4 separate regions of the Homo sapiens genome follow, and regions 1, 3 and 4 are each linked to region 2. Evidence: promoter capture Hi-C in human tissues and cell types (Jung and others, 2019). All regions are on one chromosome and are shown on one strand. The core of a region is centred on a gene start or on the middle of the fragment in contact, and the rest is flanking DNA. Distances in the headings are between cores, read along the strand shown. Region 1 has its middle 19 kb from the start of LNCPRESS1. Region 2 holds the start of TRIM56 (tripartite motif containing 56). Region 3 holds the start of CLDN15 (claudin 15). Region 4 has its middle 17 kb from the start of FIS1.

Region 1 (4,658 bases), core at 1,930-4,429, 190 kb before region 2:
CCACAAGAGGGGGATGTGTGCTTAAGAACGTTGGCCCCAAAGCTGGAAACCGCAGCTCTGGCACCTGGTGCTGGCAGCTCCCACTCGGATCACCCTTAGTCGCTCCTAGCTTTCCTGCTCACTGCTCAGTGCGCCTCTTGGAAACCTTGGTTCATGAGGGAAAAAAGACAGAACTCACATGCTCACTCTTGCATCGTTCTGCCCGAATTTGGCAAATCTCTGGACAGCTCTGCCCTTGTGTTGCAGCCTCCAGCTTCACAGGCCATCGCCCCCAGCCTCACACTCTTCACCAATATCCCATCATTGCCCAGGACCCATAAGGCCTGTCGGGCCCAGGATGCCCTGGTCCAGCTTCCAGCCTCCTTCCCTGCCGCCTGCCACCCCACAGCCTCTGTTTTTGGACAGCAGTGGGCTTATGTCAGCTGCGATTACGATCACTCACCTCTGCCACCCACAGACCTTCCTGCGTACAGCTTTTTCTTTTGTTTTTTTGTTTTGTTTTTGTTTTGAGATGGAGTCTTGCTCTGTTGCCCAGGCTGGAGTGCAATGGTGTAATCTCGCCTCACTGCAACCTCTGCCTCCTGGGTTCAAGCGATTCTCGTGCCTCAGCCAAGTAGCTGGGATTACAGGCACCCACCACCATGCCTGGCTGATTGTTTTTTTGTTTGTTTGTTTGTTTTGGAGACAGATTCTCGCCCTGTCGCCAGGCTGGAGTGCAGTGCAGTGGTGCGATCTCAGCTCACTGCAACCTCCGCCTCCCAGGTTCAAGCGATTCTCCTGCCTCAGCTTCCCGAGTATTTGGGACTACAGGCATGCGCCACCATGCCCAACTAATTTTTGTATTTTTAGTAGAGATGGGGTTTCACCACCTTGGCCAGGCTGGTCGCGAACTCCTGACCTCAGGTGATACACCAGCCTCCACCTCCCAAAGTGCTGGGATTACAGGCGTGAGCCGTCGCGCCCGGCCAGAATTTGGCGAACCTTTGGACAGCTCTCCCCTTGTGTTGCAGCCTCGGGCTTCACGGGTCATCACCCCCAGCTTCACACCCTTCACCGGTTTCCCATCATTGCCTAGGACCCAGTCTGAACTCCTTATAAGGCCTGTTGGGCCCCGGATGCCCTGGTCTCGCTTCCGGCCTTTTTCCTTGCCACCCGCCACCCCACATACTGTTACCAGACAGCACTGGGCTCATGTCAGCTGCGTTTGCGATCACTCAGCTCTGCCACCAGCAGACCCTCCTGCATGCACCTTTCCAGAAGGCTCTTCCCAGCATTTTCTTTCTTTCTTTCTTTCTCTTTCTTTCTTTCTTTCTTTCTTTCTTTCTTTCTTTCTTTCTTTCTTTCTTTCTTCCTTCCTTCCTTCCTTCCTTCCTTCCTTCCTTCCTTTCTTCCTTCCTTCCTTCTTTCCTTTTTTCTTTTCTTTTCTTTTCTCTTAAAAAAAATGGAGTCTCACTCTGTGGCCCAGGCTGAAGGGCAGAGTGGCACAATCTCTGCTCACTGCAACCTCTGCCTCCCAGGTTCAAGCGATTCTCCTGCCTCAGCCTCCTGAGTAGCTGGTACTACAGGTGTGCGCCACCACACCCAGCTAATTTTTGTATTTTTAGTGAAGACGGGGTTTCACCATGTTGGCCAGGATTGTCTCGATCTCGATCTCATGATCTGCCCGCCTCGGCCTTCCAAAGTGCTGGGATTACAGGCATGAGCCACCCCACCTGGCCTTCCCAGCCTTTCATAAGGAGTTATCTCTTCCCAGAAGTCTCCCTCCACGCTGCGAGTCTGTGTTATGTCATTCTCTGAGCTTCCATGGGGCCCAATGAGCCCCTGTCACACCACTTAGCGTGCTGGAGTGCCTGCCTGCCTTCTCAGATGGAAGCCCCATGAGGGTAAGCACGTGTCAGCCTCACGCATGCATATCCCCAGCACCTCGACGCTGTGCTTGGCACCCCATAGGGCTCAGTAAGGATTTTACTAAATATGGCCAGGTACAGTGGCTCACACCTGTAATCTCAGCACTTTGGGAGGCCATGGTGGGAGGATCGCTTGAGGCCAGAAGTTTGAGACCAGCCTGGGCAACATAGTGAGACCCCATCTCTTCAAAATATTAAAAACTTAGCTAAGTGTGGTGGCGTGGCCTGTAGTCCTAGCTACTCAGGAGGCCAAGGGTGGGACAGTCGCTTGAACCCAGGAGCTCAAGGGTGCAGTGAGCTATGATTGTGCCACTGTACTCCAGCCAGGCTGACAGAACGAGATCCTGTTGCTGCAAAAAACTGACTAAATGTGTGAATGAAGGAATGAATGTGTTCACTGTTCCCTGAGGAGGGTCTGCAAAAGCCAGTACATGTCCTTCCACCCCCTTTCCTCCCTGTTCACTGGGTGCCTCTCATTGTCTCCCAAGCCTCTGCAGACACATCCCAGGGAACAGTGCTGCTGAAGGACTAGTTCTGTTCCTTGTGATGGTGGAAAGAAATGGGATTTGGGCCAGGCACGGTGGCACACACCTGTAATCCTAACACTTTAGGAGGCTGAGGCAGGAGGATTGCTTGAGGCCAGGAGTTTGAGGCCAGCCTGGGAAACATAGTAAGACCCCCATCTCTACAAAAAACAAAGATTAGCCAGGTGTGGTGGTGCATGCCTGTAATCCCAGCTGCTCGGGAAGCTGAGGCAGGAGGATAGCTTGAACCCAGAAGGTTGAAGCTGCAGTGAGCCGTGATCACGCCAGTGCACTCCAGCCTGGGTGACAGAGTGAGACCCTGTCTCTAAAAAATTAAAAAAAAAAAAGAGGCCAGGCACAGTGGCTCATGCCTGTAATCCCAGCACTTTGGGAGGCCGAAGCGGGTGGATCATGAGGGTCAGGAGTTTGAGACCAGCCTGGACAATATGGTGAAACCCGTCTCTACTAAAAATACAAAAATTAGCCAGGCTTGGTGGCACACACCTGTAAGCCAAGCTACTTGGGAGGCTGAGGCAGGAGAATCCTTCAACCCAGGAGGCGGAGGTTGCAGTGAGCCAAGATCACGCCACTGCACTCCAGCCTGGGTGACAGAGCAAGACTCCATCTCAGAAAAAAATAAAAATTAAAAATAAATAAATAAATAAGAGAAATGGGATTTGGAGTGAGGCCAACCCAGTCTCAGTACCGACTCTACCACTTACCAGCTGTACATGTGCCTTATTTTCTCCATTTGCAAAGTGCAGAAAACAGGACCAAGCTTGCAGGGTTGCTGTGAGACATCGCCTGCCAGCCTGACACGTGGTAGGCAGTCATTAGATCAGGGTCTTCCTCCCTCTTTCCCAGAGCCCCCACCTAAGCTCCCTCCCCTCTGGAACCTTGGGACACACACACACCTGTAATCTGAAATAGCAGCTGCTACTTCCCTGACCCTCCTCTGACCCCCAAGGTTGCCCTGTCCTCTATCCCCCCACAGAGTAGTGCCAGGCACAGAACAGATGCTCCAAAGATATGAAAAGAATGAAGGAATGAACGAAGCAGCCACCACCACAGTTTCTCATGGGGCGTGTTCCCCAGAGGCCACGAGCCTCTTTTTTTTTTTTTTTGAGACAGATTCTCACTCTGTCACCCAGGCTGGAGTGCAGTGGTGTGATCTCGGCTCACTGCAACCTCCGCCTCTGCCTCCTGGGTTCAAGTGATTCTCCTGCTTCAGCCTCCCAAGTATCTGGGACTACAGGCACACACCACCATGCATGGCTAATTTTTGTATTTTTAGTAGAGACGGGGTTTCAACATGTTGGCCAGGCTGGTCTGGAACACCTGGCCTCAGGTGATCTGCCCGCCTCAGCCTCCCAAAATGCTGGATTACAGGCGTGAGCCACGGCGCCTGGCCTGGGCCTGGATTCTTGTACATGGCATTAGGGCACCCCTGTGAGTTGCCCCAAGGATCACATGTGCACGACTGTGTCATCTGAGCAAACTCCCCCAAAGGGTGTCTGCATTCCCCACAGCCATTGCTGGTGCTAACAGGACAAGTTCCAAAAAAGAAAAGCTTTTAAAAATGTTTTATTGATTTATGTTTGATTTTTGGTAGAGATGGGGTCTTGCTATGTTGCCCAGGCTTGTCTTGAACTCCTGGCCTCAAGTGATTCCCCTGCCCCGCCGCACCTCAGCCTCCCAAAGTTCTGGGATTACAGGTGCGAGCCACAGTGCCCAGCCTGAAATCACTTTCTAAATTTGCCCTTTTCATCATGTTTTCCTCTTGTAACCGTTTTATGTCACGTGTACCCTGAGGCCCCCTGACAGCCCCCCTTGGGTCCCCTCTGCAGCCTCTTGTGTTATATGTGATCGGAGCACCCCCAGAGCTTCGTCATCCGTGACGAGCACCCGCCCTCTCTCCAGTGGGAATCATCAGCTGATGAATAAGGGCTGATTTCTTCTCAAATGATCACCACCCCCAATTCATTACATTCCAAAGACTGAGCTCAGAATGGCTTATCTGATGCTTGGTGCGGTTGTGCTTTTTTGGAACGCCGTTCATTGAGGACGCAGGTTCTCTCCCGTGTGATGCTCTTGGGCGCAAGCTGTGACGTGGGTTCCACGCTATTCTGTGCCACGTCCTCCCCTGTGATTTTCGCATCTCCGATAACTGCTTGCCTCCGTCTGAGGATTTTCCTCCGCTGGTGCCATTCATTGGGAGTCTCTCTAG
Region 2 (4,308 bases), core at 424-2,923:
CTTCCTTCTAGTCTTCTGAGGCCTTGGGCCACTTGCTCTTGAGCTAAGGAGCTGCCCTCCTCCTTCTCCTCCTCCTCCTCCACTTCCGTGTGTACATCCAGCAAACGTAAAAATGTCAGTGCTACTTGTTGGGTCAGACCTGTGAGAACTGACAAGACCAGGAGTCCCTGGCCTTAGCTAATAATCGAATCCTCAGTGTCCCCAGTCCACAGGCCTTGTGGCAAACATGGTGGAAGCCCTCCTGTGTGCACAGGTACTGGGGTCCTGCTGTATAGGGTGCCAGGGTGCGAGGAGCAGGCAGTAAGGACACAGACGGGGATCCCAGTGGGCAGAGATGCCTAGGTCCTGCCAGTTGGGGTAGGATCTTGCAGTAGCTTAGGGGGCTTTAATCCTCCAAGCCCCATACACCTGCCTTCTTTTTATTTTATTTTAGTTTTTAGCAATAGGGTCACCCTCTGTCACCCAGGCTGGAGTGCAGTGGCGTGATCGTAGTTCACTGCAGCCTCAAACTCCTAGACTCAAGTCTTTTGAGTAGTTGGGAGTACAGGCATGTGCCACCATGCCCAGCCTTTTTTTTTTTTTTTTTTTTTTTTGAGACAGAGTCTCACTCTGTTGCCCAGGCTGGAGTGCAGTGGTGCGATCTTGGCTCACTGCCACCTCCACCTGCCAGGTTCAAGTGATTCTCCTGCCTCAGCCTCCCGAGTAGCTGTGATTACAGGTGCGCACCATCACACCCGGCTAATTTTTGTATGTTTAGTAGAAATGGAGTTTGGCCCTATTGGCCAGGCTGGTCTTGAACTCCTGACCTCAGGTGATCCGCCCTCCTCGGTCTCCCAAAGTGCTGGGATTATAGGCGTGAGCCACCATGCCCAGGGGCCCAGCCAGCCCATTTTTTAAAAATTATCACTTTTTGTAGAGATGGGGTCTTGCTATGTTGCCCAGGCTGGTCTCCAACTCCTGGCCTCAGGCTATCCTCCCGTCTCGGCCTTCCCAAAGCATTAGGATTACAGGCATGAGCCACCGCACCCGCCTGGCCTTACACCTGTCTTCTGCTAGACCTGGGGCAGCATCGCGGGTGGTGGAGGCCCCACTTTCTGCATTTAACAGTTTCTAAAGCGGATTCTGGAGCGGGCAGAAAAAACGCTAGGGGAAGGGCTGGTCCCCTTCCCGCTGCTGGCTCACCCTCTGATAGACTTGGCCTTGGCTTATCTCCTGGAGTCCTGTTCTTTTAGCTTTTCCTGCTGAATGCATTCCAGAAACCTCTGGAGGGAGGGAGTCCCGAGCTCCTGGCACAGTGGCTGAGACCTACTTGTTGGGCAGACTAGGTGGAATGTCCCCTTTTCTGGAGCTGGGAGGAGACCTCAGAGAGTGGGACGGGGTCTTTCTTGCGGGGACCTGTGGCCACGGAGCGGGAGGGAGGCGAGTGCAGTTTCCCTCCTGCCCTCTCCTCCTGCCTTCCGGGTGCCTCTTCACGCCCTCCCTTTCCTTCCCTTCCTCCTCCTCCCGCGCTCTCTCTCCACTCCCCTCCCCCTACTCCCTCCGCTCGGTCCTTCCTATAGCTGTGCCGCCCCCCACCCCTTACCTAGCCAGAGCTGATCTTGACCTCTAGGATGGTGAGGGGGCCTGAGGCCTGGAGGCCGCCGTTGCTGGGTGCCTGGAAAAGAAACAAAACTGAAACTAATTGTACTTGTGGTGCAACTTCCGTCCCAGCCAGGGACACACCGACTCGCCTCGCACAGCCTCAGGCCCCGCCTTCCTCCCCACCCGGCCCCGTCCTCTCCCGCCAAGGCCCCCACCCCGGCAGGCAGCTGGCAGGCTTGGGCTGGAGTCCACCAGCCAGGTCGGCCTGTCAGTCCAGCCTCAGGGCTAAGTGTGTGTATGTCACAAACAGGGAACTACCTGAGGGCGGGTTCTCTGAGTAGAGGGTGGAGGGTCACAGGGTTTATTTGTGGGAAGAAATGAGAGCTCATCTGTGATTCAGAGACCAGGGTAACTAGACACATGGCCTCAGGGCGGGTCTGCAGATTTGCTAACACCTCAGGCAGGCAGGTGCCTGCAAAGCTTCAAGAGAGGCCTTTCATTCCATAAACCGTTGCTGAGCTGTAGGAGAGGCTGTGGGGGATCAGGTAAGAAGCCTCTTGCTGAGGGAACAGCACAGGCTTCCTGGAGAAGGCATCAATGAGATGAGTTTAAAGAAGGCGGGAGGATTGCTTCAGCCCAGGAGTTCAAGACCAGCTTGGGCAATATGGTGAGACCCAGTCTCCATAAAAAATTCGCTAGCCGTGCATGGTAGCGCATACCTGTAATCCCAGATACTCAGGAGACTGAGGCAGGAGAATCACTTGAACCTGGGAGGTCGAGGCTGCAGTGAGCCATGATGGTGACACTGCACTCCAGCCTGGATGACAGAGCAAGACCCTGTCTAAAAAATAAAACAGTAAGAGGGCATAGAGGGCTGGAGAACACTGAGAAGAATGTTCCTGTTCCAGGTACTGGGAGCAGCAAGGGTACATCCCCATTTAGGATGATGTGTGTGGAGAGGATACGAGAGTGTTGGCAGAGAAGCCTGCATTTTATCAAAAAAGACAAAAGAATCATTGCAGGAGATTTCCCTCAACATTTCATGAAAAAATAATTTTTATTTTGAGACAAAGCCTCGCTCTGTCGCCCAGGCTGGAGTGCAGTGGTGTGATCTTAGCTCACAGCAACCTCCGCTTCCCGGGTTCAAGCGATCCTCCTGCCTCAGCCTCCAAAGTAGCTGGGATTACGGGCACTCACTGCCACGCCCAGCTAATTTTTGTATTTTTAGTAGAGATGGGGTTTCACTATGTTGGCCAGGCTGGTCTCGAACTTCTGACCTCAAGTGATCCACCCACCTTGGCCTCCCAAAGTGCTGGGATTACAGGCGTGAGCCAACATGCACAGCCTCATTTTATGAAAAATTCAAAGCACAAAGAAGTTGAAAGAATTGCGGTGAACACCCATATCTCCACCACTTCTGTTCTACAATTATCATTTTACCGTAATTAATTCATGACATACCTATGCATGTTTGTACCTTTTTATCCACATGGCGGAATTTAAGTAGGAAACTGAAGCTGTAAGAGCTCACTCTGGCAGCAGCCGAGAGGACAGAAGGGAGCCTGACCTCAGGGTCCAGGTGAAAGGTGGAGGGGCTGAGACATAGATGCCAGAGAGGTAGGTGGAAATCCAAAAGAGAGAGGGTCACAGAGGCCAAGGCAGGAAATGCTGCACTTCTAGAAGGACGAGGGGGTCAGCACTGTTGAATGCTACCAACCAGACGGGCAACCAAGGTGAAGACAGAAAAACAGGCCAGGTGCAGTGGCTCACACCTGTAATCTCAGCACTTTGGGAGAATCACTTGAGGCCAGGAGTTCGAGACCAGCCTGGCCAACATGGCAAAACCTCGTCTCTACTAAAAAACAAAACAAAACAAAACAAAACCTAGCCTTCCTAGCTACTCGGTAGGCTGAGGCAGGAGAACTGCTTAAACCTGGGAGGCAGAGGTTGCAGCGAGCCTAGATCGCACCATTGCACTCCAGCCTGGGCAACAGAGTGAGACTCCATCTCAAAAAATATATATATTAGCTACCTGATGGCTCACACCTGAAGTCCCAGCTATTCAGGAGGCTGAAGCAGGAGGTTCGCTTGAGCCCAGGACTTCAAGGCTGCATGTGCCATGATCTATGCCACTGCACTCCAGCCTGGGTGACAGATCAAGACTCTCTCTACAAAAAAAAAAAATTAAAATTAAAATTAAATTCCCTGTTGTGAATCTCGTAAGGTCTTAATATAATGGTCAAGGAAGGCCATTATAAGGCTTCCAGCAGGGAAGTTTGGACTTTGTCCTATAGGTATTAGAGGGAGTGGCCAGCACAGACATTTGTTTGTTTGTTTTTTGTTTGTTTGTTTGCAGAGATGGGGTCTTTCTATGTTGCCTAGGCTAGTCCTGGGATTATAGGCATGAGCTACCAGGCCCGGCCCCCAGCAGAGGTTTTTAATCCTAAATTATAATGTGGATACTTTAAAACACTCATATCATCATTGTAACACAATTAACTATTTCTTTCCTGTGTGTATGTCCTTTGGTCTCTGTCCGTATTTTACATAATTATATTTACAGGGTACATATAATTTTGTCTATAAAACTTAGCCCTATACCAACTGGTAAACAAAATTATGAGGCCAGGTGTGGTGGCCCATGCTTGTAATCCCAGCACTTTGGGAGGCCAAGGTGGGAGGATTGCTTGAGTTCAGGAGTTTGAGACCAGCCTGGGCAACATACTG
Region 3 (4,197 bases), core at 1,602-4,101, 150 kb before region 2:
ACGTCAAGAGACTGGGTGCAGGCCCAAGCCTTGCGCTGTTATCTCCCGCAGAGTTGGGGTTGTTTGTGGACTCTACTCCGTGGGGTGGGGCTGGAGGGAGGGAGTGGGTGGAGGTCGAGGGAGGAGCCCCCAGGGCTGAAGAAGGGAAGGCCCTTCACGTGGGCAGGGGGAGTGGTGGATACTGAGGTGTAGCCGGCCCAGTGGCTCACGCCTGTAATCCCGGCTACTCAGGAGGCTGAGGCGGGAGGACTGCTTGAGCCTGGGAGTTTGAGGTTGCAGTGGGCTGTGATTGCGACGCTGCCGTCCAGCGTGGGCAACAGAGCAAGACCCCGTCTCTTATTAAAAAACAAACAAACAAAAAAACACTGCGGTGTGTATGACGCGTGCGCGTTTCCCCGAGCGCAGGAATACGAGAAGGCCTTAAAGTACGTCCGCGGGTTGCTGCAGACAGAGCCCCAGAACAACCAGGCCAAGGAACTGGAGCGGCTCATTGACAAGGCCATGAAGAAAGGTGACAGCCTCGGCCCCTTTGTTCAGCCCCGCTCTTCCCCACGCCTGGGCACTTTGGTCTCTCTGTAAATGAACCCCTCCAGGCAGCCCCTCAGCCCCACCCCTTCCAGTTCTTAGAGCCCCTTGCCCTGCGACTCCAGGTAGGGGTGTGCCTCTGTTGAGGGGCAGGGCTGGCGGAAGGGGACGGTCAGGGTTTCCGCAGGGGCCGGGCTCCTGACACTGTCCCTTTCCTTCCCCAGATGGACTCGTGGGCATGGCCATCGTGGGAGGCATGGCCCTGGGTGTGGCGGGACTGGCCGGACTCATCGGACTTGCTGTGTCCAAGTCCAAATCCTGAAGGAGACGCGGGAGCCCACGGAGAACGCTCCAGGAGGGCCTGTCCATCCTCGCTGTCCTTTCCCTGTTCTCCCCCTGCCCCCCGTCTCTATCCTCTGTGGCCTTCAGCTAATTTCTGCTCCCCTGAGATTCGTCCTTCAGCCCCATCATGTGCTTTGGGATGAGTGTAAATAAAACGGGGCTGTGGCTTGGGAACCCCCGTGTCTGCGTTGAGGGGAGGGGTGGGTTCTGAACGCTGGGCACAGGGGGCGGAGACGTCACTCCTGGTCCTCTCCTGCCCCTGCCCTCCAGGTTGGCACGGGGTTCTTTGTCCACCCCGCAGCCCAGAGCCCACACCCTTCCTTCCTCCCTTTCCTGAAGCCATGTCCTTGAGAGTGCCGGGCAGCTCGGAGACATGGGGCTTTTCCATGGTCCCAGAGTCCTGGGAGAAGGCAGTGACCTGAGCATGGGCGGGCAGAACTTCGGGGCCAGGCCGGGCTTCAGGCCTGCATTCTCCTCTGACCCACTCAGCTACTTCTGTGGAGTTTTCCACAGCAGGCCCCCTTGGCTTCCTCCTCCCCACCCTCCCCTCCCTTTGTCTTCCTGTGGCCTCCCCTTCCTCCTACCTCCTCCTCTGGGGGAGGGGGAGCCCAGTAGGGGAAGGAATCCTGCATCTGGCATGGAGTAGGCGGGGGTCCCGGGAGAGGTCAGAGCCCAGGGAGCCCCAGCTCTCGCCTGTGGGCTGGAAGGTCAGGACTCAGCCCCACCTAGCCAGCTTCGCCCCCTCGTGCCAGGCTCGGCATGGGCCTGTTTTGCTTCACCGCATACCTCTCGTTCCACAGCCCAGGCCAGCACAGGAGTAGGGAGGAGACACCTGAGGGGAGGCCGGAGAAGCCCAGCAGGGCCGTGGGGCCAGGGAGGTGCGCAGCCAGCGCTGATGGCCCCCAGGGACAGAGCCCTAGGGAACCGGAGCAGGAGATGAGAGTGTCTGCTCTGGGACAGGTGCTCTGCACTGGCTCGGGATGGGGACCAGAGGCTGCTAATCCATCATCATTAACGAATAGAGTGGGTGACAGTCCCTGATAACTGGGAACAGGTTGCAGAGCTTAGCCACAGGATCACGCTCCAGGCTGTTGGCCAGCAGGACCAGGCTCGATGCTGAGTCAAAGATCAACTTAGGAGGAAATTTGAGTTTTGGGTGAGAGCGACTCCCTGGTGGCCTCAGCCCTGTGACACTCACATCCAGGACAGTTCCCGGTGCCAAGCGCTGGTTATGTGTGGGGGGCTTGACTCCCTGGTCCCAACGAGGTCTCAGTGTGTTGCCCAGGCTGGTCTTGAACTCCTGAGTTCAAGCAATCGTCTCAGCCCAGCCTCCCAAAGTGGTAGGATTACAGGCGAGAGCCACTGCGCCCGGCCCCTGGTCCCAGTTCTCACCACAGCCCCTGCAGTAAGCAGTCGGGTATGTCACTGACAGAGCAGAAGCTCAGGGGACTAAAACTCCCCGCCTGAGTTCCCTGGTGAATGGATGGTGGGGCCGAGTTCCATTCCAGGCTGGATGGAGCCCAGAGCTGTGGGTCTCCTACCCTCCCATCCCCTCATTCCAGCTTGATCTTCCTTAAGAGACTCATACGCCCCAACCCCTTGGTCTGAGTATCTTAGATTGTTCTCGTGGTTCCTCCGTCCTTCACCACTGAAGGCTGCTGTTCATTCTCTCTCCGTCTCTGTCCCTTATTGCTCTCACGTCTGTCTCTGTCATCTTTTCACTCCTTGTCCCTCTTACTCCGTTCTTTGGCCCCCAATGAAAGCTGAGTCAGAGACAGACGCTTCCCCTCAGTTCCCAGTGCCTCCCTTGGGGGCCCCTCCTTGGCTGTATCCGTCAGTGGCTCCAGGGTAAGTCTGCCCCCCCCACCCTCGTGGGGCGGGGAGCCCGGGGCAGCCCAGAGGCTGGGGGGAGGGGGTGGACTTTTGGCCCGTTTCGGTTATTCCCTCCATCTCGTCAACAGCTGCCGCGCGCAGGCTTAGCTCATTCCTCTGACCTGCCAGGAAGCAGAGAGACCCACAGAGCAGGAGGGAGGCAGAAAGTGGAGACGGACCTGAGCCCGAGGAAGAGGCAGGCAGAGGCTGAGGCTGATTCCACCCCAGCCTGCCTGGACAACCCTCCTTAGCCGCAGCCCCTTCCAGTTCCCTAGGGGTTCTGCCCCTCCCCCTCTCTGGGGCACCAGCCCCCCAGGGTCCTGCATCCCACCATGTCGATGGCTGTGGAAACCTTTGGCTTCTTCATGGCAACTGTGGGGCTGCTGATGCTGGGGGTGACTCTGCCAAACAGCTACTGGCGAGTGTCCACTGTGCACGGGAACGTCATCACCACCAACACCATCTTCGAGAACCTCTGGTTTAGCTGTGCCACCGACTCCCTGGGCGTCTACAACTGCTGGGAGTTCCCGTCCATGCTGGCCCTCTCTGGTATGGGGTGGGGAGCGCTCCAGGGAGAGAGGGCGGCGGGGAAGCTGCAGAGACCCCAGGGGAGGGCGGGTACTTCCGTGAGGATGCAGGGAGCCCTGAATTAAGCTCTGCGGGTCTGAGTTCCCGCAGCCAGGAGTGCTGGGGGCGGCCCATGCCTAGAACTGGAGTGAAGACCTTGCCACACGTGGCCCCCTGCGCTAGTGTGGCGCTTTTAGCTGTTACAGGTGCAGGCACCAGAATCAGACCCCCTTTCCCAGCCCTGTGCTGTGGGCAAATGATGAAACCAGCTTCATCTCCCACCTGTAGGGTTAGGGTGAGAGTCCCAGTTCACAGGTGACTGAGAAAGTGCAGAATGTTAGCGTGATGTTAACACACATAGGCACTCAGTACGGTTGAGCATGTTTTGGGGGTGGGATTGCTGGGGTGGGCAGGGGGAGGAGGCCCCATCTTGGATTCTTAGAGGTTGATCAACTTCCAGGCTCCACAGACTCCCCAGCCTCACTGTCGGGGGGCACTGGTCTCCTTGTCCGGCTGATGTCTATAAAGGGCCCCTGTGAAGGGAGGCGTCTTGCAAGTTGCAGGTTGAGCGTCCGCTGTAAGGAGGCGGTGTGTGTGCAGGTGTGTGGGGCTTCCAGGACAGTGTCTTTCTGGGGTCTTAGAGGGCTGGAGCCAACAGCTCTTTGGGCCCAGGGCAGTTCTTTCTGTGGCTGCGGCACCTTCCCGCTCCCTGCTCCCCGCTAAGATGAGGCCGCCCCATTGTTTCTCCGGGGCAGTCTCCCTTCCGTCTGCCCTATGCCAGAGACTGAGCGCTGGCGACCGTGAACTGTGTGTGGTGCCGCTGCACGCCCTCCTGGGTCCTTCAGGGCCAGTCCACTCACCAGGCACCGTGTGGCAGGGAAGGAGCCGAGG
Region 4 (4,377 bases), core at 1,318-3,817, 180 kb before region 2:
GGCCAGCAGATCCATCTTCAGGGCCTCTGTGATCAGAAATGTGCAAATACCTTTTTCTTTTCTTTTCTTCTCTTTTCTTTTCTTTTCCTTTCTTTTCTTTCTTTTCCCTCCCTCCCTCCCTCCCTCCCTTCCTTCCTCTCTTCCTTCCTTCCTTCCTCCTTTCTTTCTTTTTTCTTTTTTTTTTTTTGAGACCGAGTCTTGCTCTGTCACCCAGGCTGGAGTGCAGTGGTGTGATCTCTGCTCACTGCAACCTCCGCCTCCTGGGTTCAAGTGATTCTCCTGCCTCAGCCTCTCAAGTAACTGGGATTACAGGGGCCTGCCACATTGCCCGGCTAATGTTTGTATTTTTAGTAGAGACGGGGTTTTTCCTTGTTGGCCAGGTTGGTATCCAACTTCTGACCTCAAGTGATCCGCCCGCTTTGGTCCCCCAAAGTGCTGGGATTACAGGTGTGAGCCACTGTGCCTGGACCAAAGATCTTTTTCTTTGTGCCTTTTGGGAGTTAATAAAGCACTCATATCTGAAAATCTGTTTCTGCATCCCACACTCAGAATGCATGGCGGAAACAGTCCAGGAATGCACAAGGCTTGCCTGGGAATCACATTCAGCAAGTTCTGGGATAGAAAAACTGAATCTAAAGGAAAATTGTATTGTGTACTTACCAGTACTCTGTAGAGTGTTTCAGTACCATGAAGCCAGGCGTGGTGGCTTATGCCTGTAATCCCAGGACTTCGGGAAGTAGAGGCAGGAGGATTGTTTGAGGCCAGGAGTTCGAGACCAGCCTGGGAAACATAAAGAGACCCCATCTCTACAAAAAATATAAAAATTATCCAGGCATGGTGGTGCATGCCTGTGGTCCCAGCTACTCTGGAGGCTGAGACGGGAGGATCCCTCGTGCCCAGGAGGTCAAGGCTACAGTGAGCTATGATTGTACCACCACACTTCAAACTGGTCAACATAACAAGATCCTGTCTCAAAAATAATAAAAAGACATGAGCTAGCTGACTTTTTTTTTTTTTGAGACTGAATTTTGCTCTTGTTTCCCAGGCTGGAGTGCAATGGTGTGATCTCGGCTCATCGCAACCTCCGCCTGCCGGGCTCAAGCGATTCTCCTGCCTCAGCCTCCCAAGTAGCTGGAATTACAGGCATGTGCCACCATGCCCGGCTAATTTTGTATTTTTAGTAGAGATGGGGTTTCTCCATGTTGGTCAGGCTGGTCTCAAACTCCCAACCTCAGGTGATCCACCCGCCTCGGCCAAAGTGCTGGGATTACAGGCGTGAGCCACTGTGCCCTGCTGAGCTAGCCCGCTTTTGCATGTTGCAGTAAATTTGCTAGGGCTTTCTGAACAAAGTTCCACAGATTGGATGGTTTAAACAACAGAAATCTATTTCCTCACAGTTCTGGAGGCTGGGAGGCTGAGGCCAAGGTGACGCCAGGGTTGATTCTCTCTGAGGCCTCTCTCCTTAGCCTGCAGATGTCCACCTTCTCCCTGTGTTCATGTCCTCTTTCCTCTGTGTATGTCTGTGTCCTAATCTATCACCCCACAACCTTTTTTTTTTTTTTTTGGAGAGACAGGGTCTTGCTATGTTGCCCAGGCTGATCCCAATTCCTGACCTCAAGTGATTCCCCCCACCTCAGCCTCCCAAAGTACTGGGATTACAGGCGTGAGCCACCATGCGCGGCCCCATCTCCCCTTCTTCTTCTTTTTTTTTTTTCTTTGAGACAGAGTCTCCCTCTGTCGCCCAGGCTGGAGTGCAGTGGCGCAATCTCGGCTCACTGCAACCTCCACCTACCGGGCTCAAGCAATTCTTCTGCCTCAGCCTCCCAGGTAGCTGGGACTACAGGTGCGTGCCATCATGCCCAGCTAATTTTTGTATTTTTAGTAGAGACGGGGTTTCACCATGTTGTCCAGGCTGGTCTGGAACTCCTGACCTCAAGTGATCTGCCTGCCTCGGCCTCCCAAAGTGCTGGGATTACAAGCATCAGCCACTGCACCCGGCCCCATCTCCCCTTCTTATAAGGACACCAGTCAGATTGGGTGGGGGCCCACCCCAATGACCTCATTCTAACTTAACTTCTTTAAAGACCCCATCTCCAAATATAGTCACATTCTAAGGTCCTGGAGGTTAGGACTTCAACATATAAATTTGGGAGATGCAATTCAGTTCATGACACAGATACATCTCCGGCAATTCAACACCTAACAAAAGCGTGATTTCTTCACGTTTTCCACTGCTTTCATCTTCTCAGTCGTTAAGTCAATAAAAGCCTCCGAGTTTTAAAAATACCTTAGCAATTTTGACATTTAGGAAGGTTCATAGCTCTCAGATTTGCCCAGCTTGACGTGATCTTATTTTTCAGAGGAAGCAGCCTCTATTCAGCTCCTAGTCACAGCCGGCCTTCTGGAACATTCTTTCGAGCATTTGAAGGCTTCCAAGAGATGGGAGGGGGTGTCTTTTATACTATAACGCTTTGAGTAATCTAGCTCATGCAGGCATTCCTCTTCATGAAGGACTTAGCTACCTGACTTTTGACCAGAAACAGATGATTTTACCTCAAAATTACTTTTTAAAAAATAAGTTGACCTACCACATATCAAAAAGATAATAGCGAATAGAAAAATTACTGCAGACAATTTATAGAGTCAAGAGACCTAGAAAGGCTTCAATTCCCACTACCACACCTTGAGAAAATTACCCAACCTCTTTGATCATGTTTGCCAATTAAAAAATGGGCAACTCGTCCGGGCACCATGGCTCACGCCTGTAATCCCAGCACTATGGGAGGCTGAGGCAGGAGGATCACCTGAGGTCAGGTTCGAGACCAGCCTGACCAACATGGAGAAACCCCATCTCGACAAAAAACACAAAATTTGCTGGGCGTGGTGGCGCATGCCTATAATCCTAGTTACTCGGGAGGCTGAGGCAGGAGAATTGCTTGAACCCAGGAGACGGAGGTTGTGGTGAGCCAAGATTGCATCATTGCACTCCAGCCTGGGCAACAGAGTGAGACTCCGTCTCAAAAAAAAAAGTGAGCAACTGAATTGAAGATCTTCAATTACTGGCCAGGTGTGGTGGCTCACACCTGTAATCCCAGCACTTTGGGAGGCCAAAGTGGGAGGATCTCTTGAGGTCAGGAGTTTGAGACCACCCTGGGCAACATAGTGAGACCCTGTCTCTACTAAAAATACAAAAATCAGCTGGGCGTGTTGGCACATGCCTGTAATCCCAGCTACTTGGGAGGCTGAGGTGGGAGAATCACTTGAACCCAGGAGGCAGAGGTTGCAGTGAGCCAAGATCACACCACTGCACTCCAGCCTGGTAGACAGAATAAGACTCTGCCTCAAAAACAAACCAAAATGAAACAACAAAACAATGCAAAGTTGGCCGAATGTGGTGGCTTATGCCTGTAATCCCAGCACTTTGGGAGGCCAAGGTGGGCAGATCGCTTGAGGCCAGGAGTTTGACACCAGCCTGGGCAACATAGTGAGACCTCCTCTCTACAAAAAAAAATCAAGGAAATTAGCTGGGCATGGTGGCACATGCCTGTAGTTCCACCTACTTGGGAGGCTGAGGTGGGAGGATAACTTGAGCCCAGGAGGTGGAGGCTGCAGTGAGCCATGCTCACACCACTGCACTCCGGCCTGGGCGACCTCAAAAACAAAACAATGTGGAATTGTGGAATTGGCCAGGTGTGGTGGCTCATGCCTGTGATCCCAGCACTTTGTGAGGCTGAGGCACAAGGATTGCTTGAGACCAGCCTAGGGAACAGAGTGAGATTCCATCTCTATTTTTAAAATTTATTTGTTTATTTATTTTTCTGCGAAAGGGTCTCACTCTGTCACCTAGGCTGGAGTGCAGTGACACAATCTCAGCTCACTGCAACCTCCACTTGCCAGGCTCAAGCAATCCTCCCACCTTAGCCTCCCAAGTAGCTGGGACTACAGGCACATGCCACCATGCCTGGCTAATTTTTTAAATTTTTATAGAGATGTGGGTTTCGCCATGTTACCCAGGCTGGTCTTGAACTACTGAGTTCAAGCAACTCAAGTGATCCTCCCGACTAGGCCTCCCAAAGTGCTGGGATTACAGACATGAGCCACCGTGACCAGCCTAAAATTTTTAAATAATAATAAAAAAGTCTTCAATCATTTCCTTCTATAAAATTCTAAGATTTTAATATAAAACAAACAAGCATCTTTCATCACATGGGTATCCTCAATTTACCCTACAAATGAAGATTATTCCATTAAATTTTGAACTTAAGCCTGGTTGCCCCACCATTACCCATCTGAAGCAATCCTTAACAACGCAGAATTGGCCAAATGTGGTGGCTCACGCCTGTAATCCCAGTACTTTGGGAGGCAGAGGCAGATGGA

Evidence for each region. The method cuts DNA at HindIII sites, captures the fragments that hold promoters and counts their contacts. A contact is called where the count stands out against the background at its distance.
Region 1: a contact is called between a fragment that was not itself captured here and the fragment with the promoter of TRIM56 in region 2, in 8 of the 25 tissues and cell types used here (IMR-90 fibroblasts, aorta, dorsolateral prefrontal cortex and 5 more).
Region 3: the fragment with the promoter of CLDN15 here is called in contact with the fragment with the promoter of TRIM56 in region 2 in 2 of the 25 tissues and cell types used here (heart right ventricle and stomach).
Region 4: a contact is called between a fragment that was not itself captured here and the fragment with the promoter of TRIM56 in region 2, in 1 of the 25 tissues and cell types used here (thymus).

The regions. Positions count from the first base shown.
Region 1 is chr7:101,278,516-101,283,173 of GRCh38, reverse strand. No RefSeq gene overlaps it. Among named protein-coding and RNA genes, the nearest start is that of LNCPRESS1, 19 kb to the left of the region's middle. The HindIII fragment of the contact is 6,351 bases long and covers 4-4,658 here.
Region 2 is chr7:101,082,846-101,087,153 of GRCh38, reverse strand. It overlaps TRIM56 (tripartite motif containing 56), which reads right to left and starts at 1,673. Exons shown (of 3, transcript NM_030961.3): 1 at 1,583-1,673; 2 at 1-148. RefSeq lists enhancers at 2,063-2,112, 2,816-3,316. The HindIII fragment of the contact is 14,444 bases long and covers 1-4,308 here.
Region 3 is chr7:101,236,456-101,240,652 of GRCh38, reverse strand. CLDN15 (claudin 15) reads left to right here and starts at 2,851. Exons shown (of 5, transcript NM_014343.3): 1 at 2,851-3,288. The coding sequence starts at 3,072. FIS1 (fission, mitochondrial 1) reads left to right here. Exons shown (of 5, transcript NM_016068.3): 4 at 406-511; 5 at 750-1,181. The coding sequence ends at 847. RefSeq lists an enhancer at 190-733. The HindIII fragment of the contact is 32,734 bases long and covers 1-4,197 here.
Region 4 is chr7:101,260,066-101,264,442 of GRCh38, reverse strand. No RefSeq gene overlaps it. Among named protein-coding and RNA genes, the nearest start is that of FIS1, 17 kb to the right of the region's middle. The HindIII fragment of the contact is 6,396 bases long and covers 1-4,377 here.